2 separate regions of the Homo sapiens genome follow, and region 2 is linked to region 1. Evidence: promoter capture Hi-C in human tissues and cell types (Jung and others, 2019). All regions are on one chromosome and are shown on one strand. Each heading gives the region's core, a stretch centred on a gene start or on the middle of the fragment in contact. The rest is flanking DNA. Distances are from core to core; before and after follow the strand shown. Region 1 holds the start of ASB7 (ankyrin repeat and SOCS box containing 7). Region 2 overlaps CHSY1 (chondroitin sulfate synthase 1).

What was found. Contacts are between HindIII fragments. The study calls those that stand out against the background at their distance.
Region 2: a fragment that was not itself captured here is called in contact with the fragment with the promoter of ASB7 in region 1 in 1 of the 25 tissues and cell types used here (mesenchymal stem cells).

Annotation. Positions count from the first base shown.
Region 1 is chr15:100,601,085-100,603,844 of GRCh38, reverse strand. It overlaps ASB7 (ankyrin repeat and SOCS box containing 7), which reads right to left and starts at 1,256. Exons shown (of 6, transcript NM_198243.3): 1 at 799-1,256; 2 at 532-630. It overlaps LINS1 (lines homolog 1), which reads left to right and starts at 1,661. Exons shown (of 7, transcript NM_001040616.3): 1 at 1,661-1,724. RefSeq lists silencers at 474-523, 974-1,233 and an enhancer at 1,404-1,743. The HindIII fragment of the contact is 8,332 bases long and covers 1-2,760 here.
Region 2 is chr15:101,238,560-101,241,259 of GRCh38, reverse strand. All of the region lies in intron 1 of CHSY1 (chondroitin sulfate synthase 1), which reads left to right. Among named protein-coding and RNA genes, the nearest start is that of CHSY1, 12 kb to the left of the region's middle. RefSeq lists an enhancer at 1,367-1,416. The HindIII fragment of the contact is 3,239 bases long and covers 1-2,700 here.

The DNA.
Region 1 (2,760 bases), core at 7-2,506:
ATTTTCTGAAACTCATAAATCTCAGGCCAATAATTTACCTTTCTCTACCAAATCGTTGTCAGTTAGATAACTCAAAAGATTTTTCTGATGCAGGTAGAAGAAAGGTGATAGGAAAGAGTAAGGGGGAAAACAGTAAATTGTGGTTTAATTAAAAAGGAAAGTCATTCAGAATTAACAAGCAATTAACAAGGAATTGAGGAATTCCTATGAGAGTAAGGAAGGGAGGGTAGCTACAAAAAGGTCTCAAAGCCTCAGAGCAGAGTAAATGGCACAGTGTACCAAAAGATAATGAAAAACACAGAAACACACTGTACAGAAAGAAAGTGGGAAAATACTGTCCTGGGTAGAGAAGTTATAAAATGTTAAGTATCAGGCACGGGTAATGTTTTTGTTTTTCCTGGGAAACTGGGGGTGGGGGTGGGGGGGGTAGGAAAGGTTGCATTCCCAGGCAACCACCCTGAAAATAAACCACTGCTTAATGAGGTAGGGGCCAGGAATAAACAACGGGGGAGGGGAGGGCTGGCTCATTACCTTTACAGACGATGCTGGTCAGAGGCACTGTGCCTTCTGCTTCTCTGATAGGTGGGCAGACCTCTTCCTGCTTTCGCGTCTTCTTCAGCCAGCTCAAACCTAGAAAAACAGAAACCAGTGAGTGGTGTAGTGTCTCAGAGGTGGGGAGGGGGGAGCTCAGGAAAGGGGCTGGAGAGTGGCAAGGGCAGGCAAGAAAAAGCAGAGATTTTCCTCCCTCCTACCCTCCCAGCCAGCACTCTTCCCCTCGGGGGAAGTAAAGGACTTTACCTGTCTCCTCAGCTGCTGCTTCTCTTCCTCCTTTCAGCCTCCTCTACACTCACCAACTTCTCCATTGAAGAAATACCCCAGGCAGGGCCGGACCCTGGTGTTCCTGATCCTCCTCGGTGCCTCACGGCCCCAGCCCGGCGAACATCCGAACAGCCGAGAAGGCAGGAGGTGGCGATCCCGGCCGCCGGGCAGCCTTGGGGCAGAGGTGCAGGGAGGCAGGGAGGAAGTCCTGGCTCGGGTGGGGGGGCAGTCCCGGTCCAGGGCTCGGAGCAGGGGGCTGCCGCGCTCCGGGCCGGAGGCTTCCAGCTACGGAGGGACCCAGGAGGTCTCGGGACGGCGAGGTCCCAGGTCATACGGGGCCCGAAGTGCCAGCCGTGGGGTCTCCGGACAGGGGGCTTTCGGGATGCACTTTGCACTGGGCCACCCCCGCCCCCTCCCTTCAGCACTTTGGGGTCACTGGGATGGGACCAAGCCTTCAACAACCAATCAGCGCCCGCAGTGGAGCCTGAGCCTGGAGCCGTAAACCAGGTCCGGGATGGGTGGGGGTGGAGGGAGTAGGGACGACTTGGTTGGTTGGTTGCTTCCTTCTCTCCTCCTTACCCCCGGCAGCCCCCACCCTCTGCCTGCCGTAAAGTTGCCTTTGCATTCGCGACAGTTAAGGGAGGCGTGCCGAACGGGGCAGAGATTCGTCTCCGATTGGTCTCACTCACTTCCCCTTACAGCTTCCCCGTGGTGGCTTCCGAGGCTCCGCCCCTGGCGGAGGGACTCAAAGCCGTTGCTAAGAGACACTATTCGCCGAAGGCGGTCTCTGCGCATGCGGGAGGAGGTGCCAGCTTGTACTTTCTGTGAACTACGGTGGCCCAGAGCGGGCATTTGTGTTCCCTCAAATGGCGGTGTGAAGAGAGTTCGCCTGAGCCAGATCCCAGGCAGGTAACCGGGACCGGCCGCCGTGCTGGCAGCAGGGGAGGCACGAGTGCGGCCAAATGAGAGCCTGGTTCAGGGCTTAAGGTTGGGAGGGCGGCAGGCTCCAGGAAGCGAGTAGAGGGGTGCCTTGTTTCTCCGCCCCTGTTCAGCGCTTGTCAGACGCAAGTGCCCGGTCTTGGCGCGGCTGTCGGTCCTTGAGACCCCGTTAGCTTCCAGGCTGGCAATGCCTCGCCTGAAGTGGGAGAACGGACTCTCTTTGGGATAGCGATGACGATCCAAGGACCTTCCTGAAAGGATAGCAACGTTGGCGGGTTCCTGTGAATGAATGGAGAGGGGTCGTGGGGAAAACGCGAGATAGACTGATCAAGACACGTTTGTTAAGCACTTTATTCATTAGCAAGTGTTTACTGGCCACTGTTCTAGTCCCTGGGGAGACAACAGTGAACAAGATAGTGATTTCGGGGAAACAAACACAAAATTATCAGATAGGGATGGGTTATATGAGGAAAATCAAGCAGAATGGTGGAATCGATTTTGACCAGGACGTGATGGGCTGTATTAGATAGGTAGTGCTATGGTGTGAATATCTGTCCCCTTCAAAACTCATGTTGAAATTTAATCCCCAATGTGGCAGTACTGAGAGGTAGAGTCTTTAAGAGGTGGTTGGACCGTGAGGGTTCTGTCTTCACGAGTGGATTGATCTATTCATGGATTAATGGGTTATCACGGAGGTAGAACTGGTGGCTTTTTAAGGAGAGACTTGACAACTCGTGAGCCTGCTCAGCCCCCTGGCCACGTGATACTTTGCGGTGCTGTCTCGTGGTCCGTCAGTCTTAGACTTCCCAGCCTCCAAAACTAGACAATAAATTACTTTTCTTTATAAATTACCGAGTTTTAGGAATTATTTTATAAGCAACAGGAAACGGACTAAGACAGATAGGAAAGGTCTCTGAGGAAGTGACATTTGAGCAGGGATCTGAATGACAAAGAGCCAGCCATGCCAAGATCTAGGGAGAGAATTTTGCCAGCAGAGAGAAT
Region 2 (2,700 bases), core at 83-2,582, 640 kb before region 1:
AATTAGCTGGGCGTGGTGGCAGGTGCCTGTAATCCCAGCTACTCGGGAGGCTGAGGCAGGAGAATCGTTTGAACCTGGGAGACGGAGGTTGCAGTGAAATCACGCTGTTGCACTCCAGCCTGGGCGACAGGGCCAGACTCCGTCTCAGAAAACAAAAAAAAAGACTATTAAATCCTTTCTGGTTTTCCCATCCAAAAATAACCACGGTGAATACTTTGGGGGTGGAGTTGTACGTTATTTTATTTTTGTATATGTACTTTTGTTCCCTTGGTAAGCCACATCACAAGTATATACTGTTGCCTGCTTTTTAAGCTTACCCGTATATTATGAATATTTACCTAGGACAAGAGTCATGCTATAGATGCAGTTTTGTACAGAAGTGTATTTTATGTAGTTTTTCTTAAAACAACACTGAATGGAAATGGAGACTATGATATTAACCCATTTATGCCTAGAGTTCCATTATTGGAACGCTAAGCTTGTGGGAGTTATTTATATCCCGCTCAAGGTTATCACCAAAGTCTGATTTTTTTTCCACACAAAAAAATCGCAACCTCTGACATAAATGGGTTAAGTCCTAACCAGCAAAGGCATTCCTTAGCTAAGCTAATACTGGTCCAGCTGAATTACTTAACTGTGATTTGACTCAGTGTAGGAATAGCGTTTAGAAACCTAGAGTGATGGAGGATTCACTTGGCACTCTCAAGTTTCAGCTGTCTTATCTGGGCTTGAGCAAGGGTTGGACATCAGTTCATTGAAAATGAGCTTTTTCTGGCAAGGCCTCTGCAAACGTTTTGTCATTTCAATTAAGTGAGAGTTCTTTGCTCCCGGTAACAAATGTGTTGATGGCAAAGCTGACGTTTGCTTATGAAAATGAAGGAACTGGACTTGTTGATATTGCAGAAGAGGGGACAGCTTGCTTCTTTGGGAGCATTCCCTTCAATTATTTGAAATTATTAATGCATCCCCTCCTCCTCCTCAGGATGGTGGTGAATCACGATTTATGTTCCTGAACTCGTTCACTTTGTGGAGCTCTTCAAGTTAAAGGACCCTAATTGAAAAGATTATAATTTCTTAAGATTGGAGGGTTTACAAAGACTTGACATTGAGAGATTTCCCTCAAACCAACCACCAGTCATTTAGAACAGAAAAGGACAACATGAGGTTTTTCCCTGAGTTACCTAAAAAGGAACAGATAATAATTGGGTGGAGTTACCATAAAACTGTAGGGTTGAGGTTAGACTGTTTTTAAAATTAATTGGTTTCTCTTCTTGGGCAAATTACACCATTTCAGTCATAGTTGAGACATTAATTGCGTCTGTGCTGGTTGTACTGCTGGGGCCTCTTTCACTGTGTTCTTCCTGGTGGGGTACACGGGAAGCAGGGCCAAACTATAATGAAGCTTCATCCTCAGTCTAGTAGGGAAGTTTCTCGTGCTCTACCGCGAAATGCTCGTGAAATTTGCAGTTAGGCCTCTTTCCTGTAACATTGTCTGAAGTTGATAGTAAAAGAGGATTTCAGTACATAGCTTGAGGCTCAGGTTTTAAGAAGCATTTTCCACATTACCTTTGCTCCGTGTGCTCCTGAGACTGACTAGTCCACGTGGAGCCCACACTTTCCTGTTCTTTCACTACCTTATTTGATTTGCAAACTCTTGTCTTCCTTAATAATAAGTCATACTTACATAGTGCCAGGCAGGCTTCTAAGCTGTTTACAGAGAGCTCATTTAACCCTCACAACAACCCCCGTTTACAGATAAGGAAACTGAGGCACAGAGTAACTTGTCCCAAGTGGAGCTGGAGTTCTCGCCCCCATGGCCTGATTCCAGAGCCAGCTCTTGCGGTGATGCTGTAGATTCGCCTCCTTAGTTGGTTGTTCTTTGAAGGCAGGAATTGTCTCGCCCACCCCATCTCCCAAATAACATTACAGTGTTTTAGTATTTTCATGGCTTCCTAGGTTGAAAATTTCTCAAAGTACAAGATAGAAATGATTTCTGACCTTTTGCAAACACGTGTGGCACCATTAAGTTACTTATTGTACATGAGTGGGCAGTATTCAGTGCACACATTTAGTGACCTCTATTATGTGCCAAGCACTGAAATTATTTACATTTTCAAAGAATTGTTGCGACTGCCAAATGAAAAACATTTCTCTATAAAGAGAGCATTATCAGGGGCTCCTCGACTTGAATGGGGGGTCATTGCACTATAATTTTGTCCTTACTAACTTCCCAAGGCTGGAGGAGTTCTGAGAAGTTATCTCCCCTCCATATGTCACCGCATCAGAAGACTCTGTATAGCTTGTCACACATTCACACATTGTCGCATTTGCAAAAGGACTTGTCCCTTTGTAGGTGGGATTGGTTTTTCTTTAAATTAATTTCCACATCTCTACGTTTATTCTACATCCTTTTTCTTCAGGAGCATATCCTTTGTGAAAATGAAGTGCAGTACCTAGAACAGTATCTGTTAATAACCGTGGAATGAATGTCTGGGCTGAATTTGTTTTTTGTTGTTATTCTTGTTCTTTGTTAATGAGTTATTTAAGTGGCGTAAGAATACAGGTCCATTTTAAATCCATAGGCACTAAGGGAAAACATTAACAACACCATCTTATATCCATTCTGTGATTTTGACATCTCAGAAATTAGGATGCATTTTATAGTTACCGGCGTCATGGGATTATGATTGGCAGTATTTT